Regions from separate parts of the Homo sapiens genome. Here all the other regions are linked to region 1. The links are contacts of gene promoters, found by promoter capture Hi-C in blood cells and fetal thymus (Javierre and others, 2016). All regions are on one chromosome and are shown on one strand. The core of a region is centred on a gene start or on the middle of the fragment in contact, and the rest is flanking DNA. Distances in the headings are between cores, read along the strand shown.

Region 1 (3,484 bases), core at 215-2,714:
GCCACCGTGCCCAACCAGTAGCTGTGATTAAAGTAGGGTACAGTCAAAGGAATAGGTCAGAGGAGGAAATCGCAGATTGATGTGAAGGCGTTGGTAATGTTCTGGTTCCTACACAGGTGAAAGGTGTACAGGTGTTTAACTGCTATGCTTTTTATCTCACACATCGCATAAATTTTTCTGTGACATAAAATATTACATAACATTTAAAAAACAGGTCAAGAGGGCAGGGTGCAGTGGCTCACGTCTGTAATCCCAACACTTTGGGAGGCCGAGGGGAGCGGATCACCTGAGGTTAGCAGTTCGAGACCAGCCTGGCCAACATGGTGAAACCCTGTCTCTACTAAAAATACAAACAAAACAAAACAAAACAAAATCCGGTTGGAGTGGTGCATGCCTGTAATCCCAGCTACTCGGGAGGCTGAGGCAGGAGAATCGCTTGAACTCGGGAGGCGGAAGTTGCAGTGAACCGAGACCGCGCCACTGAACTCCGGCCTGGGCAACAAGAGCGAAACTCCGTCTCAAAACAAAAAACAAACAAATCCAAACAAACAAACAAACAAACAAAAACAGGTCAAGGATCAGAAAAGTAAAGTGAGTTGACACTCCATTTACACACAGAAAGCCCAATGTTTTTCTATTATATCAGGATACCTCTTCTAAAGAATGATAGCTTACCTTTCAATCAGAGAAATGATCTAAAGTTCAAAATGTTACTCCATAGCTAGCTCCTGGAGGAAGGAAGCTAGGTGGCAGCGTGTACACAAAAAGGCAATTCATCCAAATAATAATATAACAAGAATATAACAAGTAGGTATTTTCTGCTAAGTGCTATGTAGCACAGGGGTGAATGCGTGGCAGGGCAGGAGGAGGGCTGTTTACAAGAGGGTATGAAATGCAGCTCTTCTTTTCAAGAGTGGTTGCAGAATGCCAGGGCTACAAAGAGAGGGCCGCACATTAAGCATCGTATTATGTGGGTACAGAGTATTAGGGTTCTCGATGACCAGAAGGAGAATGAGTGCAGTTTGTTTCCTAGCAAGCCTTCTTTAGCTTCTCTTCCCAAGTGGGAGTGGGGTTGGGGTTGGGACTGTTCTTTCCTAGCTCAAAAGTTCACTTATGTCACACTAGGGTCAGTTTAAAGGAGAGTGCTAGTAAGGGTAAAGTCAAGTTACATAACCTAGCGGAAAATGAAGACCTAAAACCGCTCGTGAGCAAACACAACACTTTAGACGTAAACCTCTTCCAAAGAAGGGTGGATCTCAGCACTCTGGGTGAAAGCAATCTCAGCCAGTAAAACATCAGAACGCTTTCACGCACGCGCAGTAAGCACACGACCGGTGGCAAGAGCCCGGATAAAGGCGGAGCTAAAGGTGCCGGATAATGCATCACGGAGCGCGTGTGCGCACGCCGTAGGGGGCGGGCCGTTCGGGCTTGGTTTCCTGGGCGACCACCGCTGGCTAGTCCGTTAGAGGCGTGCGGGCTTCGGAGGCGTGCGGGCTTCGGGTGCCATGGGGACTCCTCCCGGCCTGCAGACCGACTGCGAGGCGCTGCTCAGCCGCTTCCAGGAGACGGACAGTGTACGCTTCGAGGACTTCACGGAGCTCTGGAGAAACATGAAGTTCGGGACTATCTTCTGGTGGGTGTTTCTTGTCCACCACCCGCCTCTCCCTGCCCGCAGGTGGTGTAGAAAGTTGCCTCCTTCCCGGCGATATTGCACTTGTGAAGGGCTGAGAAGAGCGGCAGTCACCGAAGGTTGCCTCCATGACTCCTGGACCTTCCCCTGTGCTCAGGCAACGCGCTTTCCCTGCTCTATTTCATTGTGCCCTGATGGTTGTTGCGGCCTCCTCCCAAATATGCGTCTCTGCCTGGCCTCCCTTCTAAACTCCTCTCTCCCATCTCCACCCTGAGCCAGGCCACTATCATTTGCCCTTCCCCAGTCTTGTTCTAGGACCTGATGTTTAAAAACACACAAGCAAAGACAAAACCCTTCAAGATTGAATTAATTTTTCCTCCAACAACCAAAGTTGTCTTTTTTTTTTTTTTTTTTTTTTTTTTTGAGACGGAGTCTCCTTTTGTCGCCCAGGCTGGAGTGCAATGGCGCGTTCGCGGCTCAGTGCAACCCTTCGCCTCTCAGGTTCAAGTGATTCTCTTGCCTCAACCTCCGGAGTAGCTGGGATTACAGGTGCCCGGCACCACGCCCGGTTAATTTTTTGTATTTTTAGTAGAGACGGGGTTTTACTATGTTGGCCAGACTGGCCTCGAACTCCTGATCTCGTGACCCGCCCGCCTCGGCCTCCCAAAGCGCTAGGATTACAGGAGTGAGCCACCGCGCCCGGCCCAAAAGTTGTTTTTCAAAAGTGCAAATTTGATTATGTCACTCCCCGACTTATTACTCTGTAGTGGTGCCCATTGCCTTTGGGATAACGCTTGAATTCTCTGACTTGCCAAGACCATTCCTCACTGGCCTTTGCCTATCTCTCCAGCTTCGCCTGCCAGTCCCCTCCATGCACTCACTTTCTTGCTCCAGCAGCTGCTTTTTTTTTTTTTTTTTTTTCTTTGGGCCCTCTACAGGCTTTTCCTAATCCTGGAGTTTCCACCGCAACTCTCTTGTTTTGTCCACCTTATTCTTCACTCAGGGTTAAGCTCAAATGACATCCTCGGGGGAAGTCTTTTTTGCTCTTCTAGACTGAGTACGCTGTTCATGTTTTTTCCCCGCATAGCACCCTGTTTTTATTTTATGTCACCGCTTTCCACATTTTGTTGTAATGGTATAGTTGAAAAGGCAGTGTGGGATTGTTAAGGGCATAGGTTATGGAACCCAATTGGCTGCATTTGATTGCAGGGTCCGCTATGACTTGGGGCAAGTTACTTGAGTTTCCATATCTGTAAAATAGAGGCAATGATAAACCTCATAGTAGTTGTGAAGATTAAATGAGCTGATATATCAGAAATACATTCTAAGTGCTCAATAAATGTTCATTATTATTATTTTTTTTTCTTGAGACATAGTCTTGCTCTGTCACCCAGGCTGGAGTGTAATGGTGCGATCTCCTATCACTGCAACCTCCACCTCCCGGGTTCAAGAGATTCTCCTGCCTCAGCCTCCCGAGTAGCTGGGACTACGGCTTGTGCCACCAAGCCTGGCTAATTTTTGTATTTTTAGTAGAGACGGGATTTCACCATGTTGGCCAGGCTGGTCAAATGTTCATTATTACTACCGTTTTAAAATTTTCCTTTGACTAGACTGACCTCTGTGAGGACAGTGACTGGATGAATCTATTTTTATTACCATAGTACATATAATATTAAAAAGGCGAAATAACTGATTTTCTGAATGAGTTAAACCTTATGATTAAAACTTTTTCTGAACAAAATGTAAAAACTCATTTTCTCTCTGTCAGTGTAAGCAAATTACCTTTGTAGTTTTTTAAATTGCAAGGAATGGAGGATGAAGAGCTGTTTGTTGTACAGTTAATAAAAGGAGAGA
Region 2 (3,453 bases), core at 764-3,263, 170 kb before region 1:
TGCTTTTTTCACTTAACATCCTATCTTGGGCATTTCCCCACGTCTGTGCATTTAGATTAACCTGGTTCTCTGTAAGGTAATAGAGCATCCTTTATCCCAATACCCTCCTTTAATATAAATCTGTTTGGATGTAATTTTGACCTTGCTCTCTAAAGAGTCATCATGTTTACCTGAGGAGGTTGATGAGAAAGACATCAGAGATTAACTGTCACCCCTAACTAAAGTGAGCTGGGCCCTGCAGTAGTCAGACAGGCTGGCAGATGTCTAGATTGAGAAATAAAAATATCCCAGGATCAAGATTTTGTGGATAGAAAGCCATGAAGCTCAGAGTTAGGAACAAACAACTTGGGCCCATCAAGATAATGGACATGCTTCTAGAATCCCTGACAATTCCTGCCAGCGGCAGGCATTGATCACCTGAGAAGCAGGTATCATTCCCCAGTCCTGTAGGAGACAGTCTCTTCTTGACTGGCCTTCTCATAGGGCACTGAGCCTCTGGAGTGCTGAGCACTGGCTTTTCAGCTTCTGGGTACTGGGGAGGAAGTGGTCAAAAACCCAGGGGGAAAAGAAAAAAACCTCTGCCCTGGGGAAGTTGAGGCTCTACGTGTGGAGATGAATTATGTGAACCCCACTCCCACCACGGCCAAACCCCGTAAATCACCCCAGTCAGCTACCATCACTGGAGCTCCCTTTGTAAATGTTGACAGCAGCTGCTATCAACTTGGGCAGCCAACTGGGCTCAGCCAAGAAGCCTTTGGGGAAGATGTGGGTTAATCATCAAGCAAGGCTTTAAAAGCGGACGGAGGCCAGAGGCCAGACCCCCGCTGGTGCAGATGCACAGACCTGTGACAGAGGTGCAGGCTGTGGGGCGGCGTGGAGGCGGGAGGTGGTGGGGGGATCAACAAGATTAGCTCAGGCAGGGAGAAGAGTCTGAGGGGGAATGTAAGAAGCACAGGAAATGAGTGCAAGCAGGAGGGGCTTTCGAACTGTGTTGAGATTGACTTGGATAGATTAGCAGTGGGGAGCAGCTGTGGCTTGGGCAGAGGCACCTCTGAGGCCAGCCAGGCAGGCCACAGCTGCACCTGCTGGGCCCCTTCCTGCCATGCACCTATAAGGAAGCAGCTCCACCAGGAACCCCACCAGCCTCTGTCTTGTGCCAGTTGGGTAATGTGCACCCGGATGCATCCAGTATTATTGTTTCATTGGCAAAGCAGTTCAGGATTTTCTAGCTGACCAGTTGGCCCAATTAGGATTTCTCCCTCACAGATAGCAAAAAAGTTGGGCCTGCCTTCCAGTCCACTTTGCCAATCCTCCTGCTAGAGAACTGAAGTCAGTCCTCCAGTCCTCCTGCTAGAGAACTGAAGTCAGACAATGTTGGGTTTATGGACTAGTTGCAATGAGGAATAACACACAGATAGCACGGGGAGCCATGGGGCAGCTCAGTAAGAGGATGTGATAAAGGACTTCTTGTAGGATTTGGGCTTAGGTGATACTGGGGAGGATTCAGGGAAGTGGGAGATTGCTCTGGATTTTGGATGTTATCAGGAAGCAGAGGTAATTCTAGGACTGGGTATCTTAATAATTCTTACCTAGAAGGCAGAAGGAATGAGATGAGGCTAAAGGTGTAATTAATAAAGAAGCAGAAGTTGCTCATATTAGCCAGGAAAGGAGCATCTTTGGTCATTCTTGTGGTTCGGACAATGTTCTTATTTTTGTCTGGGTCTAGACATGATTATGGGATCATCTTGTTTTCTTTTGCTCCATTACAGTCACAGAGCGGCTGTATCTGATGTTGGTGTTCTATGGAAATTATGTTCAACAGGAGCACACCATGGCCCAGATGTGAGCGCCAGGCTTATGTCTAAAGGCAGCCAGGAATCCTGCAGAGAAAAGATTCTGATGGTTCTCAGCATTCCTATCTAAGCAGAAGCTCCTCTTGCAGGGCTAGAGATGATGCCGGAAGAAAGCAGGTGCTCCTGTTGGAAGGCTGCCTCAGGTCTATTCATCCATTCAACAAATACTTTTTGAATGGGAAACATACTCAGGCACTTGGGACAGAGCCGTGACATGGATAGTTCTCATGGGTATACATTTTATTGAGGGACACAGACAACATGAGTGAACAACACTGGGGCCTGTTGGGGGATGGGGTGGGGGGAGGGAGAGTATTAGAAAAGATGGCTAATGTATGCTGGGCTTAATACCTAGGTGATGAGTCGACAGGTGCAATAAACCACTATGGCGCATGTTTACCTGTGTAACAAACCTGCACATCCTGCACATGTACCCCAGAACTAAAAATTAAAAAATATATTTAAAAATAAAGTCACGGGTATTACCGGGCATTATAAAGACAATAAAAGTAGTTGTCAGAGAATGACTGGGGGACACTTTGGAGAGGTGGTCAGGTAAATGCTCTCTGAGGAGGTGATCAGAAGGTTCCCTGTGAGATTCTAAGGTGAGACTAGCAGCAGGAAGAAGGCAGGAACATCTGCAGTGTGGTAACTGAGGGAGAGATGGGCTGAGATGAGGCTAGAAAGGTGGGCTGTGTTAGGGGGTTTGGGGTTTACTCCCCATGCCCTGGGAGGCCACTGGAAGACTTTAGCGAGAAGAACAGCAGGCCCCACATCTCCCTGTGAAACAGCAGAGGCTTGCAGCATACTGGCCTCTCAGCATCCCAAGACCTGTTCCTGACCTGCCCCAGCCCCTCCCTCCAGGCCTGGGGTTTTGGGTGTACGGGAAATAGTCTGACTGTCTCCTACTCTGCTGAGGTCAGTCATTGTTCAGAGTGGTGTATTAGTTCCCTATTTCTGCTGTAACAAATTACCACAACTTAGTAGCTTAAAGCAACACAAATGTACTACCTTATAGTTCTGGAACTCAGAAATCCTAGCATCAAGATGTCTGCGGGGCCTTTGCCTCCCAGAGGCTGCAGGGAAGTACCTGTTTCCTTGCCTTTCCCAGCTTCTAGAGGCTACCTCCATCCCTTGGCTTGTGGCTCCTTCCTCCACCTTCAAAGCTGGTGGCATAGCATCTTCAAAGCTCGCCCACTGTCTCTCTGACTATGACCCCTGCTTCCATCATCATAGCTCATTCCCCGACTCTGACCCACCTGCCTCCCTCTTATAAGAACCCCTGTGATTACACCAACCCCACCCAGATAATTCAGGATAATCTCTCTATCTCAAGGCTCTTAAATTAGCCACATCTTCAAAGTCCCTTTTGCCATGTAAGGTAACATATTCACAGGTTTTGGGAGTTAGGAGTTAAACATCTTTGGGGAGCCATTCTGTCTACCACAGGTAGTCACCTGGACAGCAGAGAACCGAAATTTATCTTGAGCCATTCTACTAATGATATGTGTCATTTAGCCACTGGAAACCTACTCACTTATCTGTAAAAATGAGATGAGTACTTGCCCCACCTACCTCAGAAAGTTATTGTATCACATGA
Region 3 (3,430 bases), core at 827-3,326, 140 kb before region 1:
GACTATTCTTAAGTGCCAAAGAAAAATATACAGTGCATGCCTTTAATAGAAAATCTATTCTCTTATTCAATTGGATGTATCACCTTACTTTCCACCTTATCCTTATTTTGAAAATAAAATCCATAATCTCGCCATCAAAAATCCTGGAAGGAGTTCAAAATTGAATCTCTTCTGAGCTAATTTAATTTAGGTTCTTTGTAGAAACCTTTTAATCACATTTCTCCCCTAGTTGTATACAGCTGTAGAATAGTAAGGCTCTATTCAGAGTTCAGAACAGCCTCTCTTTCTTGTTGCTGACTCAGACTTCTAAAAATTACATTCTGTGGCTGAGACTAGCAATGAAAAGAAATTCAAATTTGGAAAAATTTGGAGAAAATCTTCCTCCTTGCCAAAGGGAGCAGTTTGTCTTCTATCTTCCAACTTCTTCGTTCTTGGTTTTTCTTTCCCTGAACCCTTAAATAACTTTTGCCATCTCTCCATTCATAAAAATCTGTTTTCAGCAAAGGGTTAATAAGCATACTCCCATTTAGTCGAGGAATAGCCTACAGCCTACTACTATGCAGTCTTCAACCTACTATAATCTGGTTTCAGTGCCACTTCCTAACTCAGCCCCCATTAAAACTTCTCTCACTGAGGCCACCCGTAAGCTCCTAATTGCCAAATCCAGTGGACACTCCCCAGTCCTATACTAACTGGGCTCCTGTAGGAGAGACACATTGCTAACAGGCCTCCATTTTATTTGCCCAGCCCTCAGGGATGAGTCATGATTGAGCTCAGGCAGTCATGGCAACCCCCTTCATTTTGTCAGTCATTGATCTAGGAAGGGCAAGGACCCTTGGTCAATGAGACATAAGGGGAAATCTGATGCCATCCCCTGGAAAATATTTTCTTCCTTGAAAAAGAATGAGGCACACAAGGAGAAAGACTTATTGTCTCTACTCCCCTTGATTTCTGTTTGGCAAGTTCTCACATGCAAACTTTTTGCTTGTAATGTCCAGCCTATGACCCTGAAGGTGAAATTTTTTACACGCTGAAGGTGGGCAGAGAAGACGAATGGAAAAAGTCTGGATTCTCCATGACATTGCTGGGTCACAGAGCCCAGAAAGAGACCACCTACCTCAGACTACTTGATAAGTCATTCATAATGACTGAAGCCACTTCTATTCTGTTACTTGCAGCCAAATGTATCCTGATTAGTATGATCTGTCTGTGTAGCATGTGATATTGTATACCACTGCTTCATTAAAATCTCTGACTCTAATCTCTGTGTGCTCTATGTACTCTTCCTTAATATGACCCTCAAATATGGGTGCTTCCTAAAAGACTAGCTTTCCAATCTCTTCTCTGCTTGCCCCCCATAGTTTCTGAGAGGGCTCTTCCTGGCCCACTGCTTTAGTTACCACTCATATTCACATCTCTCCGACTTCTCTCCCACGCTTTTTCTCAAGATATGTGAGATAAAACTCAACATTTTCCTTTGTGAACATGCCCCTCTGCCTGTATGCCTCATCTTATTCGATGCTAACTTCTCTACCCAGTCACCGAAGACAAAAATGCAGGCATCATAATAATCTTTCTTCTTTAATTATTCATACCCTCTCCTAGTCTTTATCATAGTGAATTGATTAAATAGTCATGCTCATTTCCTACTAAATATTTTTTGGCATCTCTCCATCCTCTCTCCTCTCACTCATTAGTTTACACTTTTTCACCTTCTGCTAAAACCATTGCAAGGCCTTCTTAACTGACTCACTTTCCAGTTTTGCCTCCTTCATCCAATCCCTTGCATTGCCTCAGGATGATTTTCTGCAGGCCAAATATTAGAGGGTCTCTCCTCTACTTAACCTGTCATTGATTCCTTAGAATGACATTCAAGTCCCTTCCTCATTCCACTTTAGAGTCTCCTTCTAGCTTCATATCCTCTGGGGCCAAGTGAGGAAGGGTCTATTTTTCCTGCAGTCTCCTTTCTACACTGTCTCTACTTCATCTACCTGGTGCACTCCCATTTATCTTTGGTTTAGGCATTATGTCAGCTGTGAAGGGTCTTTCTTTATTCTCATCACCCTCCTTACCATTCTCCATCCATCGTGAAAGAGTTAGATAGTTCCCCCGTAGGATCTTGTGCATGCCTCTACCATGGCATGTATCAGCCAATTCTGGAATCCTTGACTACATTGTCCAATCTCCATTAGACTCTGATCACCTTGAGGACAAAGACTGTCTTGTTCGTGTTTTTACTCCAAGTCTAACAGATAGTAGCAATAAACGTTTCAAGAAGAAAGAATTAAGTGAATGAATAAATGATGTTTTAATTCTCAGGGCATTTACATTTTACAAAAATAAAACAACGAAACCACTAAGCCATAAAAAGGAATTTCTAATTATTTGATGTCCCACCTCAGGGCCCAGTGAGGAGGCACCTTCCAGATGCTGTGGTGAATCACGCTGCATGGACAGCTATTAGTCCACAGTAAAATCCACTGTCTTGCCTGTTGGGCAAATTTTCTTTCAGAAAATTTCAGAAATTTTGGCATTTCAACAAGGCATTTCAAAGTCTATAAGTTGTCCAAAATTAATTATAGCCTTTAGTGAGCATACTGTAATGTTTTTCATGTAGTTATGATTCTTTTAAGGAACTTGTGTAAAAAGCATAGTTTTTCTTAAGACATGAATTCAGAAATTTTATGGAATGCATCTGCAATATGTATAGACATGAGGGATAGTTTTAGTCATGCTGTGCCCCCGATATCCAGTTATAAGTTGCTAGCCATCATTGTTAGGCTCAGTGTACACACTGTGTTTAACATAATGTGAGCAGATCCAGTCATTTTAAAAACATGGTAATCATTGACTGAGGTAGATGTTGCACTCACTCTTCTGCATTTGCTTAATTCAGATCTAGTCTGTACCCTGTTCTGTGCCCCAAGAGGTTGACCTTTATGGACTGCATCAGTTAGGCTGCCCATCTCTTGGGTTTCTGATTGGGATTGAGCTGTGAGCACCACCAGCAAAAGATTAGAAGAAAGGAAGAGAGAGAGGTTGTTTCTTCCTTGCCAGGTCAGATTTGACAATGGCTGTGTTCCTCAACCAAATGCCACAGCTCCTGTTGGGTGAACTTCTCCAGGTTGCTGTAACCTCTCCATCCTCTTGCCTCTTAGGCCTGGAGGTCATAGAGGTGGTAACAGTCTCTGCTGCTGCTAGCATAGGAGGGTTTCACTATCCTCTCTTGGTTTCCCTCAACTCTACCCTTACACTTGTATATATTCTCTTCATTAACCTTTCTCTAATCATGCACTTTGAGTGCCACCTGTTTCCTGCTGTGACCCTGGCAAATACACATGCTCAGGATGCTTAGGGAGATGACGAAAAGCATTAATCTATTTACTCCATCGCCCACAACTTTTACCTTTGTTTGCTCAAACCTCATCCA
Region 4 (3,383 bases), core at 80-2,579, 150 kb before region 1:
GACAAAGTCAACAGGTAAACTGGAAGAAGATGTTACTGACATCCCAAACCAAAGAATGTAGATCTAGGAAATCCTGCGAAACAGTAATAAAAAGGGAAAACAGGCAAAATATACAAGAGGAAACCTCTTAATGGCCAATAAGTGTATACAAAGATGCTAAACATTACTAGCAATCAGAGAAATACAAATTAAAACATCAATGAGAGATCACTTTAGAGAAAGTCGGATAAAATCAAGTATAACAAAGACACTGCTAGAGGGGTGGAAATAAATGCAGCCATCCTGCAGAGCAATCTAGGAGTCCCTAGAGAAATCAAGGATGCATTCTTGGCCCTGAGTATGTGCCCAAGAAAACACTGATGTGCAGATCATAAGAATACATGTAAAGCTGTCCATCATGGTGCGTGTGTGTGTGTGTGTGTGTGTGTGTGTATGTATGTATGTAAACAAGGACTGATGTTTGTTAATAAAGCAATGGTTTAGTTAAACATAAACAAATACAAGATGGGCCACTATTCAAGCCAGAAGCGGGAAAGGAGATTTACATATAGCAGCGTGGACGGGTCACCAAAGCATATTGATGATGGCCGTGGTACGTGAAGTGAGTAATTTACTCTATTCTCCTGAGGTCCAAATTAAATAAAATGTAAATACATAGAGCCAGTGGTCACAGAACTTCAGTGTCTCTGAAATGTTTATGTGCATGAGAATCATCTGAGGTATCTGTTAAAAGAACAAATTTGAGGGTCCCACACACAGAGATTCTGAACCTGCACTTTAAACATGCATCCCAGGTGATTCTCCTATAAGTGGACCACAGGCTGCACTTGGAGACACCTTCAACTAGGTAAAATCAAGCTACCAGGAGAGTGATCAGAAGTTAGTAGCAAGGGAAATGGCAGTAGAACATCTGCCCAGCACCGGCAGCAAGGAAATGACTCTGAAGCAGCTGGCCCTGTCAGCAGCAGCTGCCTCTCTCCCCTCCCTTTTTTTGTGAGCCAATCTTAGTGGGCCTGGCCTGAAGGGGTTTGGGTGATGGAAACTGACAACTGCCGTCTGGGGAGCGTGTCTGGAGAGACAGGAAGCCACTGGGGGGCTTTTTCTTCATGAGGATGCTGCTGTGCGTAGTGCCACCAGGGGTCCTAAGCTTGATGTGACCATCCAGACTCACAGTGGGCTTCTCCAGGTTGGGCTGTGGGTTGGGGGGAGGTGGGCTATGAAAAGAGTGAGAATGACATATGGGGGACATTGTCAGATGCCAATGCTTGAGTCTGTTCCGATGAGAGAAGCACTGCTGAGCCTTCTCCTGGCAGATCTGGTGGACTCTGGGTGCAGATGGTCCAGGAGTCGAGCCACAGAACCCCGTCATCCCTCCAGTGTCTTCATTGCTCTTGCCTCCTTTGGTCCCTGCCTCTGGCCTGTGCTTTAAGAGCTGGACTGTTCTGAGGCATATTGTGTACCATGTGGAGGGGATAGTGACTGCTATGATTGTAGGCAGATGGGATGTGGTCTTAAGCTTGCCTTTAGGGGTGTCTGATGGCATGCTCAGCCCTGCATCTCCAGCCAGAGACGTCTCCCTCCCTGTGAATGGATTACAGCCACCCCAGTCAAGAACGGACTCTGGACTCCTACTGTTATTTATCCAGGCACTGTTCCCCAACTGGCCCAGAGAACTAACGGAAGCCTGGATTCACTGTCCCCTTCCTAATGTGCAGAATGGCCTGGTTTCCTAAGGACAAGGAAGGTTTTTCAGATTTATACAAACAGACCGTGCATATTTGTGGGTATCCAGGTAACAAACCCAGTTTGAAACTCCTTTTGACAGCATAATTCATAACTCCAGACAGAAATGCTAACGTGAACACAGACACTCCAAAGGTGGAAAAGATTAAGAAATGGTCCCAAACATAGCTCTCTCTAGAAATCATCTGATTCTCTAACACACCTCATTTTGCAAATGTGAGTATTGTCATGTAAAGAGAAAAGAACCAAAGAGAAAAAGAAGACTGGCAGAGAATCCAGAGACACAAATATTTCAGGCTTATTAATAACCAGTAAAGCTTTCTTTCTTAGGAACTTCTTGAAGTCAGCTGTTTGATGCTGATGGTGTGTGATGTGTAAGCAAAGGTCTGTGAATCTGAGAATCCCCATGTGCGTCTACAGGACCGTTCTCCCTGCCCCTGTTTTAATGAGATCCAGGGCAGCTGCAGCTCCCATTGTGCTGAGTGGCCTGGGCAGGCTGACAGAGCTATTCTTCTCTCCTAGTAATGTGTTTGCTTAAGCATGAACATTAGTGTCAGAAGTGCTTAGTGCAAAGCAACCATTCAGGGGTGAAGCAGTCACTGCCAAGTCTATATGTCTGGGAATTCATTATGTCTATTCGTCTGGGGGTTAGGGTTAGGTAAACCTTGTATTTTCTAATGAAGTTGAAAAGGTAAAAAACAAAAACACTATTTATAAAATCATCTTTTTGGGGTGAGTCCAGCTGTGAAAACCCCAATGCCTTGTTCAGGCCATGGCTTCCTGAAAAACCGAACAATAGCTCTTGTTATGTGGGGCATATCCTCTTGCCCTCATCTGCCCTGTCTTCTGAAACGAGTGAAATGAAAGTTATTTTACACCCGACCTTGCACAAAGCTAATGTGCCTAATTAGCGGAAGATGTGCTTTTCGGATGGGAATCTGATTTTACTCAGTAGTGTCCTATCTTTCACGAGATGAGGACACATCATGGGCAGACTGTGTATTTTTTCTTGTCTTTCTCACAAGAGCAATGAATGTGATCTAAACTGATGACTCTCCTGTCTGTCTTGCCAGTATGGCCAAAGGCATTCATTTCCGAGGCAGCTGGCCAGGGCTGAGCCGCGGACAATTAACTGGGCCACAGGGCCCTGGGCTCACAACCTTCCTGCTGGATCCTGAACACAGGGCATTGGCATAACAATGAGCCACACTAAGACTTCCCTAGTAGGAAGCTGTCTGTTTTCATCTTTGTTGATCTTTTGGATAGATAATACCACGTGTCCTTCCCTCTGCTGTGTCTCCAGTACAGTGTTCCTGGAGTTAATGTGTATCACCAGCTTCCCCTGTAATGGTCCACCCACAGTGGTGTATAATGGGCAGGGAGGTGAGAGAGAGCAAGTGCAGGCAGTAATGGGGTGAGAATTTAAAGACAATAATAAAACTGACTCCAAGTCAGTCTGCTGCTTATTATCATCAAATGCTGACAATTTTTAAACAGTGTCACTGATAAAACACTCTTCCTTGCAAGCTCTAAACAATTACTAAAGTTGCTGTTGCCGCTGACATAGGTGGACCCCGTCACAGACATTCCTTTGCAAAGTAAGTTTGAGACAGGTGGGATTCATCCAAGCTCCCTTCAGC

What was found. The method cuts DNA at HindIII sites, captures the fragments that hold promoters and counts their contacts. A CHiCAGO score of 5 or more calls a contact.
Region 2: a fragment that was not itself captured here is called in contact with the fragment with the promoter of SNAPC1 in region 1 in 1 of 17 cell types (neutrophils); the score reaches 9.4 in neutrophils.
Region 3: a contact is called between a fragment that was not itself captured here and the fragment with the promoter of SNAPC1 in region 1, in 1 of 17 cell types (neutrophils). The highest score is 10.9, in neutrophils.
Region 4: a fragment that was not itself captured here is called in contact with the fragment with the promoter of SNAPC1 in region 1 in 1 of 17 cell types (neutrophils); the score reaches 5.8 in neutrophils.

What each region holds. Positions count from the first base shown.
Region 1 is chr14:61,760,956-61,764,439 of GRCh38, forward strand. SNAPC1 (small nuclear RNA activating complex polypeptide 1) reads left to right here and starts at 1,465. Exons shown (of 10, transcript NM_003082.4): 1 at 1,465-1,633. The coding sequence starts at 1,506. RefSeq lists enhancers at 1-203, 204-947, 791-880, 948-1,691, 1,692-2,435. The HindIII fragment of the contact is 7,963 bases long and covers 1-3,484 here.
Region 2 is chr14:61,589,369-61,592,821 of GRCh38, forward strand. All of the region lies in intron 1 of LINC03033 (long intergenic non-protein coding RNA 3033), which reads left to right. Among named protein-coding and RNA genes, the nearest start is that of LINC01303, 20 kb to the left of the region's middle. The HindIII fragment of the contact is 4,871 bases long and covers 1-3,453 here.
Region 3 is chr14:61,624,607-61,628,036 of GRCh38, forward strand. All of the region lies in intron 1 of LINC03033 (long intergenic non-protein coding RNA 3033), which reads left to right. Among named protein-coding and RNA genes, the nearest start is that of LINC01303, 56 kb to the left of the region's middle. The HindIII fragment of the contact is 5,067 bases long and covers 1-3,430 here.
Region 4 is chr14:61,606,715-61,610,097 of GRCh38, forward strand. All of the region lies in intron 1 of LINC03033 (long intergenic non-protein coding RNA 3033), which reads left to right. Among named protein-coding and RNA genes, the nearest start is that of LINC01303, 38 kb to the left of the region's middle. RefSeq lists enhancers at 661-1,411, 1,412-2,161, 2,610-3,221. The HindIII fragment of the contact is 369 bases long and covers 1,146-1,514 here.